Regions from separate parts of the Homo sapiens genome. Here region 1 is linked to region 2. The links are contacts of gene promoters, found by promoter capture Hi-C in blood cells and fetal thymus (Javierre and others, 2016). All regions are on one chromosome and are shown on one strand. Each heading gives the region's core, a stretch centred on a gene start or on the middle of the fragment in contact. The rest is flanking DNA. Distances are from core to core; before and after follow the strand shown.

Region 1 (5,798 bases), core at 1,120-3,619, 590 kb after region 2:
ATAGCATTTAGTTAACTTGCACACAGTAGGCATTGAGTACATATTTTATGAAATAACACATAAGCACCTGTATATCTAAACTTTCTACATTAACTAACCAGAAAATAACTGTGCTTTGGATTTATATGACAATATCTTAGGTAACAACTCTTCTGGGTCATTTAGCTCTGCAAATTTACTTGCTCAGTAATTCCTTCCAACCAAACCATTCATTATTCTAGATATAACTGGACCGTCTCTTCTGGAAGAGTCCTCGGATGAGAGCTACAGAGATCAGCTCACAAAAATATGTACTTCTGGCCTCTTCCCCTTAAGATGTTAACTGGTATAATTTAATCTGTTATTTAAATGTATGTTTTATTGCTGTAAATCAATAAAACTTCCATCTGAGCTGTGTCAAAGACATGTTTATACTATATTGCTCATTATTTAAAAGGGATTTTTCAAGGTAGACCCTAAATATACTGGATTAGGAAATAAATTTTAAAAGTCCTAAAGGTGAAAGCCTTTATGTTTCATTTATCTACACTTCTCATGATCTTTCCAAAGAAAGATCATGAATTAAGATAGAAAAGCAGCAGATAATACTTCAAAAAGCACTGAAATGAATGTAGAAACTGAATCATTTTCAGGTCCAAGATGCTCACATAATATTTTGCACTCTGCTACTTGCTATTAAATCCCAGGATGCAGTATTTTTACAAGTTTTTTTTTAAACAGAAAAAAAGACAAGGGAAGAGAAGAGAAGAGAAAAGAGAAGACAAAAAGAAAAGGAAAATACAGACATATATATTAGCCTGTGTTTCTTAAGTGAGCTACAGAAGACAGAATAGGCCTTCCCACCTTTTGAAATCTGTGCAAGAGTCTGGGTCCGAAATGTACAATTCCGTTGCCCTAACGTGTGGAAAAGGAATTTGTACCCTCCTGCCAATCCTTAAGCATATTAAAGCTTCTTTCTAGAGATTAGTCAATAAAAAAATGTTTTATACGTTTGTATCCTAATACTTCTAAAAGTAAAATGAGAAAGCTTATTTTGTTTTAATTACCTTTCACGATGAAAATATTTTGATATGAATAATTTTCATGGCTTTGAAGAAATGCAATACACAAGATCAGAGCTTATATGACAGAGAGGACACAGGAATGGATGTGGGTGTCACTTCAGCTCCGGGCATACAAACCACAAGAACCTGGTCAAGTTACTTACACCATTTTATTTATTTATTTATTTTTTTAGATGGAGTCTCACTCTGTTGCCCAGGCCGGAGTGTAGTGGCGCGATCTCGGCTCACTGCAACCTCCGCCTCCCGGGTTCAAGCAATTCTCCTACCTCAGCCTCCTGAGTAGCTGGGACTACAGGTGCGTGCCACCACGCCTGGCTAATTTTTGTATTTTTAGTAGAAACAGGGTTTCAAAATATCAGCCAGGCTGGTCTCAAACTCCTGATCTTGTGATCCGCCCACCTTGGCCTCCCAAAGTGCTGGGATTACAGGCACGCGCCACTGCTTTCGGCCAAGTTACTTAACATTTTAACACACAGGTGACAGTATCTATTTCATAAGACTGCTGGGGGAATTAAGTGAAATCATTCACCAAGGCAGAGAGGATGCTCGGAAAAAATGTTTCACCTCCCTGAACTCCTAACCACGCAATCAATTCACTGTAACGTGTTTGTTCTGGCTGTATCACCCAACTAAATTTTCAGCAGGTACAACTAACCAATTTCTTTCTTAAGAAAAACATTCCTCTAACGATGTGCAGACTGGAGAATAGGAAAGATAAATAAGAGGCTGTTTTGCTGTGGTACTAATAAAAATTTCAACATGAGACAAAAAGAGAAGGCTCTTCATAAACTAAACTAAGGCAGTAGTAGGACTACCAGTCCTCTAAATCCAAGGAAAGCAGGAATTAGATGAATGACAGAGTATTGTGATACACTGGGGCAGGCAGTCCCCAGAAAAGCAAGTAGTCTCCTATTGATACAAGAGATCTCATTATTCTAAATTAAGTCAGGGTTTCTAAACCTGGCTTCACATTAGAATCACCTAGGAGGCTGGTAAAACCCACCAGTTTCCAGGCCCCACCCTTCCCCAGGGATTTTGATTAATTGATCTGGACTCTGGGCCCAGGGAGTTGTTTTATTAAAAGCTCTCCAGGTGGTGCTAATGTGCAGTTGTGGCTGAGAACCAAGGATCTAAATGTTTTTAAAACCCAGGGTAAACATGAACAACAAGCACCCAAGGTCCACACCTTACGGCAAAAGCCATTTACCTTCTACGGACAAGCAAGCGCACCAGACAAACACACAGTCAAGCAGACATGCCAAGCTCTCATGAGTTTTTAAATCTTTAGTATGTTCTTTACCATCATGATCACTCATCTAAAGATTTAAAATTTTCTAAACTTACAGTTACAAAATGAACTATTTTCTGGCACAGCTAGCAGTACCAGCACCTGCCTACCAAAGCAGGCCATTTAAAGGCAGAGGAATACTTCCAAAAGACAAGGTTAGGCCAGCTGTCAACAAAGAACAATCCCACCAATTTCACCTCAGGTTAAGCCTTCTCAATTCCAGAGATGGAAGCTCTGTGAATGGTGGATCCTGCATTCCTGGGGCCAGACCTCCTGCTATGGCTCAGCTGAGCAAGCCTGCTGTCTCTTCCATCAGATGGCCAGGGGCCTCACAACAAACCAAACAGGTTCTTCACTGAACTAAACATTCACTCTCATTCCTGTTTTAAAGCAATCCTGCTGCTCTCACCTATGTAACTAACGACAATAATCCTCTCATATCTGCTTCCTTAAGTTACAGAATTTTGCACTTCACGATCATTGACCTCCTCTCTGAACTGATAACATGAGTTAGCATGTTATCTGCTCTTTCGTAGTTCCAGAGGTGTGATGATTATGTTCCAAATATGTGAAAATCTAGTTGAATGCACAATCTCAGCATAGACATGTAATTGTTTAGTAACAACAATACTAATAGCAATAGTAACAGCTAATGTGTAGCACCAGTTACCGTGTGCCAAGCACTGTTCAGAACAGTTAGGAAACATTTACTCCCATGATTTCACAACAACCCTATGAGGCGAGTGCCATTATTATCCCCACTTTATAGACAAAGCAATGAGGCACAAAGAAGATACATGGTTAGTATGCAACAGAACTACAGTTAAAATCCAGGAAGTCTGGCTCCTACAATAAATGTTTATTGTAAGTCAAGCTATATTAACTGTTCAATAATTACTTGATAATTAATTCTGTAGAACACATTAAAAAGTGCATTAATTTACCTTAGCTTCATGTTTAAAGAATTCAGAGGTTCCCTTTGGAAGTATTATTCCCTCACCTCTGTTAAATGCAGTAAAACACTGCAGAAATAACAAAGCAAAAGCAAAAGCAAAGCTGGCTGGCTGGGAGCTGTCACTCCTAATTGTGCCCAGCACAGGTGCCCAACACAGTACCACCCACTGGGCTGGGTAACTGCAAGCTGGATTTAAATAACACAGAACTGCTAGGAGGAAATGGAATATCCTGTGATTTTCTCAACACCTATCCTTACTAAATCAAAACTCCCTAAGAGCATTACTGTTAAAATAGCTGACTACTAGTTAAAATACCTCATGTGTAAAGGGTAAATTTGTACTGCTTCTTTTGACCACTGTGCCAAACTAAAGTTTTATTTAATGTTTCTTTAACATACACTAGTAAGCTTTTCATACAGGAAAAATTTGGATAACAAGAAGGTAGGTATTTTTAAAAAAAACCATTAGGAGCAAAAATATTCGACTGCAAGATTTTAAAGGATTTGATCCTTTGAAAATATTTTCTATGATGAATATGATAGATCGAAAGTTGCTTTCTCTTTATTTTTCAATCTCTGCATCCCAAAGGTTTCCCCAAGCCTCACTCCTCCTGAAGAAATTGTACAGGAGTGAACAACTGCATCCCGCATTTGTGCTCTGTTTCTTTCCCTTCTCCCCTATGTTCCTGTTCCTCCTTAACCCAAATGACATGAAAAAGTTGCCAATGCCTTACACTGGAAGATCTATATGATCTGTGGTTTTCATTTTAAGTCAAGCTGTAATGGAAAAACTATCCTAGTTAAGGGAAGTTTATTACACTACATTGTATTTTTTAAAAACATGCAATTGTTTTTGTAGCCCTTGAGGAGCTGAATTCTACTAAGAGAAGACACTTTTCACTTTGAGAGGCACAGTAAAGGTTTTCAGACACCATACTCATTTAGTCAATTATCCTCCCAACAGGCCATGAAAGCATTAAGGTACAGGTCAACTATCACTTCCTTACTGGTTTCCCAACTTCATGTTGTCAAAACTGTGGTTCCAAGCAAAATAACCACCTCATACTTTTTAGTCACAGTTAATCTTGATACTTTCTGAAACACTAAGATTGGCTCACTGACAATCTCTGAAATGTCATCCTGAGTACAGTGGGGCTTTCTAGCAAATTCTCTAATAATATCCAATACTGTCTTAAACTAAAAAAAGGAAATGAAAAAACTGTATCTGTAATTCCAATTAAGTTTTATTTCCACTCTGTCTTCTGGCTTGCACTTTTGCTATTGATTAACAAATCATGTCCATGTTAGCCCATTCTGAATAGCTCAGAGGAATATTATAAATATTAAGATGATGTATTCTTTAAAATTCTATAGCTTCAAGTTGGTATTCTTTCACAAATAACTATAAAATAAACTCAAAATCTTTTTTTCCTGCATTAGTTCACGGAAAATAAAAAGGGTTAGCAATTAGAATCAATAGATTCTTTGAAAACACTAACTAATGAAGATGTATTGTGTTTGCTTGGAAAGCTAAGCCTTGTGATTTCTCTGAGCTGTTACTCAGCTATTTACCCAGCAAATATCTCCTGAATGTATGTTAAATGCCAAGCACTACAGCTAATCACTGAGCATCATGAATAAACTTACCCAGAGATGGCATCCCCCCGAGCTGGAACTTTCCAATGATAAACAGGACAGTGAAACATTTTCCCCTTAAAAAAGCATAACTCAAACCCCTTCAACCTCATCCAAGAACACTGTGCCCTCAGTCTAACATCCAGAGCTATCCAACTACATTGTTCAATGTTCCAATGAATTTTGAATTTTTCATATACTGAAGGAATAATCACATGAGTGATGTGTTTACTGAAAGATCTCTATCCATGGATTTACAAAAGAAATGGTCATCGTTATTGATCAATAACTAGATATTTACATGATAACATGGTCACCAAAGTTATGATTTATGTAATATGTTTCTACTTAATGCAAAAGTTTTAGATGCAAACAGATAACACTGAATTTAGCCAGTTGCTAGAGTTATGTTACAGCAACTTACTTGGTAACATATTTTTAAATTTTAGTTCATGCTTCACAAGTCTATTTTAGCAGAAAAGAAAACATTGCCACATTGAGATCCCAGGCTGGAAAGTTACTTTTCCTCTGCCACCAAGGACCATGTAAGACATGCACCCTGATGACTGATACACTTGATAATCAGATGGCAGCTAGAGAATAAACATAAGACCATGGCTGAAGGTACCTAAGAAAAATTTCAATGTGCACAGATGGAATCTTTCACGTTAAAAGCAGGTAATATATGATCCGCAAATGATCAACACCTGTGTTACCTCGAGAAAGATTCTGTATACACTGTAAACAAACAAACCCTAATTGCCAGGTAAGTAAACATAACAAAATATTAACCCTGTCTACATAGCTTAGAAGAAGACTCCACCAAGTAAACTAATATCAGCATATAAGTGGCTTG
Region 2 (6,665 bases), core at 2,601-5,100:
TTAAGTTATAGTGCAGTGGTATCCAATGGACACATACAATGTGAAAGTTAATTTTAATTATATTTTATTTAACTCAATGTAAGCAAAGTATTATCATTTCAACATACAGTCAATATAAGAATTGAAATATTTACATTCGTTTCTTCAGAGTAAGCCTTTGAAAGCCAATGTATATCTATTACACTTACAGTTCTAGTCAATACGTACACTAAATTTTCATCAGAAATACTTGTATCACTACTTCGATTTCAAAACTTTACAGCTGAAAAAGTAGATCCAAGTTGTTCAAAACATACTTAAAAGTTTATGATAACTGGATGAAGGACCAGTTTTTAAATTTAAATTTTAACTCATTTAAATTAAATTAAAAATTTAGTTCCTCATTAGCATTAATCATAATTCAAGCGCTTAATAGCCACATGGGGTTGGATAGCAAGGGCTGTTATCCAAATCCATATCTATCTCACTGAAAGAAACCCCACAGAACATCTCAAATATACTGTAAAAAGGTATTTTTGGAAATTGAATAAAAATTGTTCTCCCTAAATGAGAATCTTTCTGTTTAACATCTTTCTCCCAAAGCCTTAAATGACCCATTTCCTTATCTTGAGAAATCTACAATAGAGTCATCAGCTTTAACATACTAATAAACCTCTAATAAAACATAAGCACCTCTAGGATGCATTTCCACAATTATATTATTCATTAAAGGAAAAAAAGCAGGTCAAATGCTTTTGATTTTGTATATAGACACACGATTTTGTATTGATTTATTTATTCTGCTGAGGAACCCTTCTCAAACTGAAGGGTAGGGTAACAGGAAGCTGGAAAGATTAAATAATTTGAGGAAATATTTTAGTAAGTTCAGGTCCTGTCTTAGTTCTATCTTTTCTAGCAATATCAAAATATGAATAACCTGTGAAAGCCACTCATTTGTAAATGAACTAATACAAAATCAAGAACAGGCAACTGACCCAAAGCTAAGTGAAACTTTGCAAAGCCATGTTCTTGCCTCTCACTTCCGCAGGGTTAATGGTTAAGAACTTGGGCTACTGAGTCAAGCTATCTGGGTTGGAACCCTGGCTCTCTCATTTGTTACCAATTTAACTTTGGATGGTTTACTTAATCTTTCTGTGCCTCATCTGTAAATGGCCATAATAACAGGACCTAAGTCACAGATTGTTATGAGGAATAAATAAGACTTTACATGAGATAAAACATCTTAACACAGCACTAATCCCGGCACACAGTATAAGTCAAACAATTATCACTACTTTTAGCCCAGAAATCAGGATAACAGAGACGGGTATATATCTTCAATAAATAATGGTTATAAATGAACAATATAAGTCCAAACACTTTATAAATACTAAAGTGCTATATGAGTATAAGCTATTTTTATCCTATATAAAGTAAGTTTACAAGGTAGCTCTGTTCAGAGAACAATGTATTTAATGAAAGAAATCCCCGATTTATCCAGGCGCAGTGGCTAATGCCTGTAATCCCAGCAATTTGGGAGGGACGGCTTGAGCCCAGGAGTACAAGACCACTCTGGGAAACATAGGGAGGCCCCATATCTACAAAAATGTATAAAAATTAGCCAAGCAGTGTGGCACATGCCTGTGATCTCAGCTACTCAGCAGGCTGAGATTAGAGGATTGCTTGAGCCCATGAGGTTGAGGCTGCAGTGAGCTATGATGGCACCACGACACTCTAGCCTGGGTGACACAGCAAAACCCTATCTCAAAAAAAAGAAAGAAGAAAGGAAAGAAGAGAGAAAGAGAAAGGAAAGAAGGAAGGAAGGAAGGAATCCTGAATTCAACAAATTGAATCTTTACAATATGGCTTACTAAGTTATGTTGAAGTTTTTATAAAGCCTTTCCCCAAAAATCAAACCCACATTCATTCACCTAAAAAGTCCTAACATACACACCAAAACAAAATACAAGTTATTTATCAGTCAGCATCACTTTAGGGTCATCCATGGCTCTACAGGCAAAGAAGCATCGGATTTAACAGAATGGTCAACAAACTGCCTTGTGATAGTCTAGAGAATTCACATATAAAAATCTCAAACGTCTAAAAACAGACAAATTGTCTGTTTTCAGTAATATTTTATGCACCTTCTTCACTTTCCTTGATCAGATCTCCTAACAAAATTGCCTCTTATTGGGTTTTCTGTCTTTTTCCTTCCCCTTTCTCCACCCTGGTGCAGTCATTAACTGGTATTAAAGGGCCAAAAGAGAGGTAGTAGCAGTGAATAGGAGAAACAGACTAATCTAACAATTGGATAAGTAGCCCTAGAATAACGAAGAAGGCCTAATTAAAACTTCAAAAGCCTTATAACAGGTGATTCTAACCAGTCATAAAACTGTCACCTCCCTGGGTGGTAAAAAAAAAAAAAAAAAAAACACTTAAAAACTCATTTTATTATTTAAGTTAATTAAAGATACAAAGTATACGAAACAGCCATTACTATGCCTGACCCAAGATGTGTCACTAAAATAGTAACTATAGAAATGTTTAGAGGGGAGAATTTTTAGAATAATTTTCTGGAAAGACTACAAGACTGGGAGATTGTTAATAGTTCCTAATTCCTTGGAGTGTAGATTATTTTTATAATCCTTAAAGCATAAATAAGGAGAAGTGAATTAACAGTAGACTCTCAGAGCTGTGAAAGCCACGCACTTACTCTAGGATGAATGCTTCATTAATTTTTCACACAGTGTGATGATGTTGCAATTTTCCATGAGCAACTATCAGAGCTTTCCTTCTTGATAAGTATCAAAACAGCCGAAATTACATCGAATACTCGTGCCTGTCATTGGCCGAAATATAATTTCAATACTAGGATGTACCTAGTATTTCCAGACTCACACCCTGGCCTGGGTAACGTTACGATTACATTGTATCCACCCTGCCTAATGTCAGTATGTTTCACACAGTCACCCATTTCACCCTTCCTCTGGCTAAAGAGTTTTCCTCCTTCTGTAGACCTCTCCCCAGTGGATTTTACCTTAAATTCCACTCCCATTCCAACACCCAAGAGGCTAGATCTGTCTCCTCTACCCACACGCGGGGGCATGTCTAGATCCCCGTGATGCTGAAAAAGATGTCTCATTTGCACAGACATCAGAACCCGAGTGGGCGCGCGGCGGGCCCTGCGGTCGCCGGCGCTGATAGTCAGATGCTTTGTCTCCTGCCTGGGAAGGCCGGAGCTGCATGGACACGTATGACAGACATTCTAGAACTAATAAAAAAGAACACCACAGCCCCGCGCACAGGCAGCTCCTCCCGGACAGGCGATAGCCCAAGGCGGCCAGACCTGAGGTGACTGATCCCGCGAGGGGACGGAGGGGAGTGACGAGGGCTTTTCCCCCAGAGAAGTCAAGACGCCCCCCAGGGACCCGGCGCCGCGCAGCCGCCAGCCACCTGCAAACACAGACGGCGTGAGGGCGGCGCAGTCGCCCTGCCAGCACCCGGCCGCGCGTGCCAGGCCAGCGGGGACTCACTGCCTCAGTTTCCTCAGCCGCAGAACCCGGCCGGGACGCCCCTCAGGTCGCTCCACCCCGGTAGCCGGTGCTCCGCGCCACAGCCAGGTCCTTGCCGCGCCCTCAACCCGCCGCCCGCCGCCCGCCGCCGGCAGACTGTCCTCACCTGACAGCCACCCGCACGGAGCTCTCGTCCGGGGCGCCCAACATGCTGGCGGCGGGCAGCGATCGAGCCGTTGGGCCTCGGCACCGCAGAGCTGAGGCGCCACTGGGGCCGCGGGACTCGGGCGCAGTAGGCTGGGGCGTCTGCGGGCGGGCGGCCGGCTCACCTCCGCCGCGCTCCAGCCATGTTGGGCGACTGAATGGAAAGGTGGCGGCGGCGCTGAGGCAGCAAGAGGAGGAGGTGATTCACGGCTCGCGGGCGCCCGCCCCTTCTCCACCGCTCACCCCCCAGGATCTGGGGCGGGGACAAAGCGCGCTTGAACGGCGAGCGCGCCTGTGGAGAAGCCAACAGGCCGCCAGCGGCCTCAGGGCGGCCGGGTGAGTGCGCCCTGCCCCCTCCGGTGGGGACGCGGCCTCCCAGCGGCCAGGCTGGGGACTCCACGCCCGCCAGGGCGCTCCGGGCTCCTCGCCCCGCACTGCGTCAGCCGCCGCCGCGCGGCTCAGCCCCACCTCGCCCTCCCCCAGCCTGCGCCCCGCCCTGCCCTCGTCGGGACACTGCCTGGCGCTGCTGGGCAGGGAGGCGAGGGGGAGGGATGCCTGCCGCCGGCTGCCCTCGCCCGAGGGCGACCAGCCTGTGCGCCCTTCCAGGCTCTTCTGGGAGAAGGAAGCAGCTAGTGCACGCGCTGCTGCCAGGTCCCTTCTCAAATCGAAGCTTGATTCAGCGGCGCGCCGGGAGCCAGGCAGCTGCTGCTGCGGTTCGGCTTTGTGTCCCACGCATAGCCTTATTGTCCTCTCTGCAGCTTGGACTTTGACCCCCTTCCCTAGCCCCCAGCTGAACGCCCTCCCTCCTCCCTCCCCGGAGTCAGTCATTCATGCTAAACGGACTCCCAGGTTTGTCCACTGTCTCTGGACAGCTGGGCTGTTCTACAGTTCATCGCCCGTTTACCAGCTCGGGTGGGATATGGAAATGATTTATTCGAGACTCCTGAATGCTTTTCTGTTCAATCATTTGTACACTGGTAAATGAACTGCACCCTGGTACTGCCAAGTGTTCCCAGAACTGAATATATCCACCAAGACCTGCTGTGTAGTAAATCCTTCCAAACTGATTTTCTTTCCCTTCTGGCCTTTAAAAAGCACCTCCCAATCCCAGGATTCTCTCAACATTGACCCATTGTGGTTTCTGTTTGTCACTATTGTGCTTCCACATGCCTTCAGATAGCTCTGTGGAAACAGCCTTTATTAGCTTTGCCACAGAGTATCTTTTGTGGACTGCTCCATACATCTCTATAAACAAACATGTGGCTTCATACGAAATAGTATCACAAATTAAATGGCACTATCCAAATAAAGGCACTACCTCAAATGCCTGCAATCTACAATCACATACCTAATCATCTTGTTCAGCAGTGATACAGCAGTGTGGCTCAGAGAAGGCTGCAACACTATGGGAAAAACAAGAAGTGTTTGATGATTTAAACCCATGGGAAGGCCGATGGGGTATATAATTATAGATAGTTTTAAATTTATTCTGTCCCTTAATCTCACTACCCCTAAATCTTAACAGACATGTAACTGGGAGGTAAAGAGGGCAGAGATGCTGAGTATCCTTCTATAGATCAAATTGGTGGGAAAGCTCTCCTCTGGCTACTCTTTGGAGGGCCTTTCCTAGCCTCAAAATTTATCCATCAACAAATCAGAGCTGCATTTCACCCTGCCCTGGCAAGCCCATATCTGGGTGGATCTGGGCTGGCCACCTTGCTTCTTTTGTTGATGAAAGCTGCAAGGAAAGCAAGAATGGCCCAGCACATTTAACAAGAAAACTAAAGAGAAATTTGTATAATTAAGACCCTCTTTTTAAAAAAAGTTCTTTTTTATTTTATTTTATTTTGAGACAAAGTCTTGCTCTGTCACCAGGCTGGAGTGCAGTGGCGTGATCTCGGCTCACTGTAACCTCTGCCTCCCGGGTTCAAGCGATTCTTCTGCCTCAGCCTCCTGAGTAGCTGGGACTACAGGCGTGTGCCACCATGCCCAGCTAATTTTTGTATTTTTAGTAGAGACAGAGTTTCACCGTATTGGCCAGGCTGGTCTTGAACTCCTGACCTTGTGATCCACCCGCCTCGGCCTCCCAAAGTGCTGGGATTACAGGCATGAGCCACCACACCCAGCCTATTTTATTTTTTGAGACAGTGTCTCGCTCTGTCATCCAGGCTGGAATGCAATGGTGTGATCTCAGCTCACTGCGACATCGACATCCTCCTCCGGGGTTCAAGGGATTCTCGTGCCTCAGCCTCCGGAGTAGCTGGGATTTCAGGCATGTGCCAACACATCCAGGTAATTTTTGTATTTTTAGTAGAGATGGGATTTCACCATGTTTACCAGGCTGGTCTCAAACTCCTGACCTCAAGTGATCCGCCCACCTCAGCCTCCCAAAGTGCTGGGATTACAGGCATGAGCTACCTCACCTGGCCAAAAAAAGTTCTCATTTTAAATAACAATAGTATACATATATGTCTCAGTAAGGGGAGTCACAAACACAAATGCCTACAGGAGCCAGGCAGGTAGCTCAAAAGAGCAGAGCAAGATGAATACTATGATAAAGGTGAGGACTATCATAAAATAGAGACACAGGCCCCTTCCAAAGGTGGTGGCCATCCTCAGCTCTGGCTGAATATTGCCTTGATGAAATGCAAATCCAATGCTGCCAAGATTTTTATTTCTTGTATGTATGTTGCTTCTCAAGAAAAAGAGAAAAACAGATCTTTATGAAAAAACTCCTTAGTTTTAAACACCAACGACTAATTCAGCACAATATTTACATATGCTGCAAACCAGACAAAATATGTCTCAGGCCAACTTTAGTCCCAAGACACCAGGCTGGAACTTCTGGACAAAATATTAGCACCAATAACAGCTGTGGCTTTGGGTTCATATTGCACATGGTTTCAGGAAGAGGCAGTGTAGAAATTCAAATTCTCATTAATGACCTAGTCAGTAATTTTTCCCCAAATT

Evidence for each region. The method cuts DNA at HindIII sites, captures the fragments that hold promoters and counts their contacts. A CHiCAGO score of 5 or more calls a contact.
Region 1: a fragment that was not itself captured here is called in contact with the fragment with the promoter of KIF21A in region 2 in 1 of 17 cell types (non-activated CD4 T cells); the score reaches 6.3 in non-activated CD4 T cells.

The regions. Positions count from the first base shown.
Region 1 is chr12:40,030,007-40,035,804 of GRCh38, forward strand. The region is part of intron 2 of SLC2A13 (solute carrier family 2 member 13); the gene reads right to left. Among named protein-coding and RNA genes, the nearest start is that of SLC2A13, 73 kb to the right of the region's middle. The HindIII fragment of the contact is 2,688 bases long and covers 1,026-3,713 here.
Region 2 is chr12:39,439,270-39,445,934 of GRCh38, forward strand. It overlaps KIF21A (kinesin family member 21A), which reads right to left and starts at 3,851. Exons shown (of 38, transcript NM_001173464.2): 1 at 3,658-3,851. The coding sequence starts at 3,701. RefSeq lists enhancers at 2,792-2,861, 3,680-4,180, 4,462-4,521 and a silencer at 3,482-4,381. The HindIII fragment of the contact is 8,179 bases long and covers 1-4,363 here.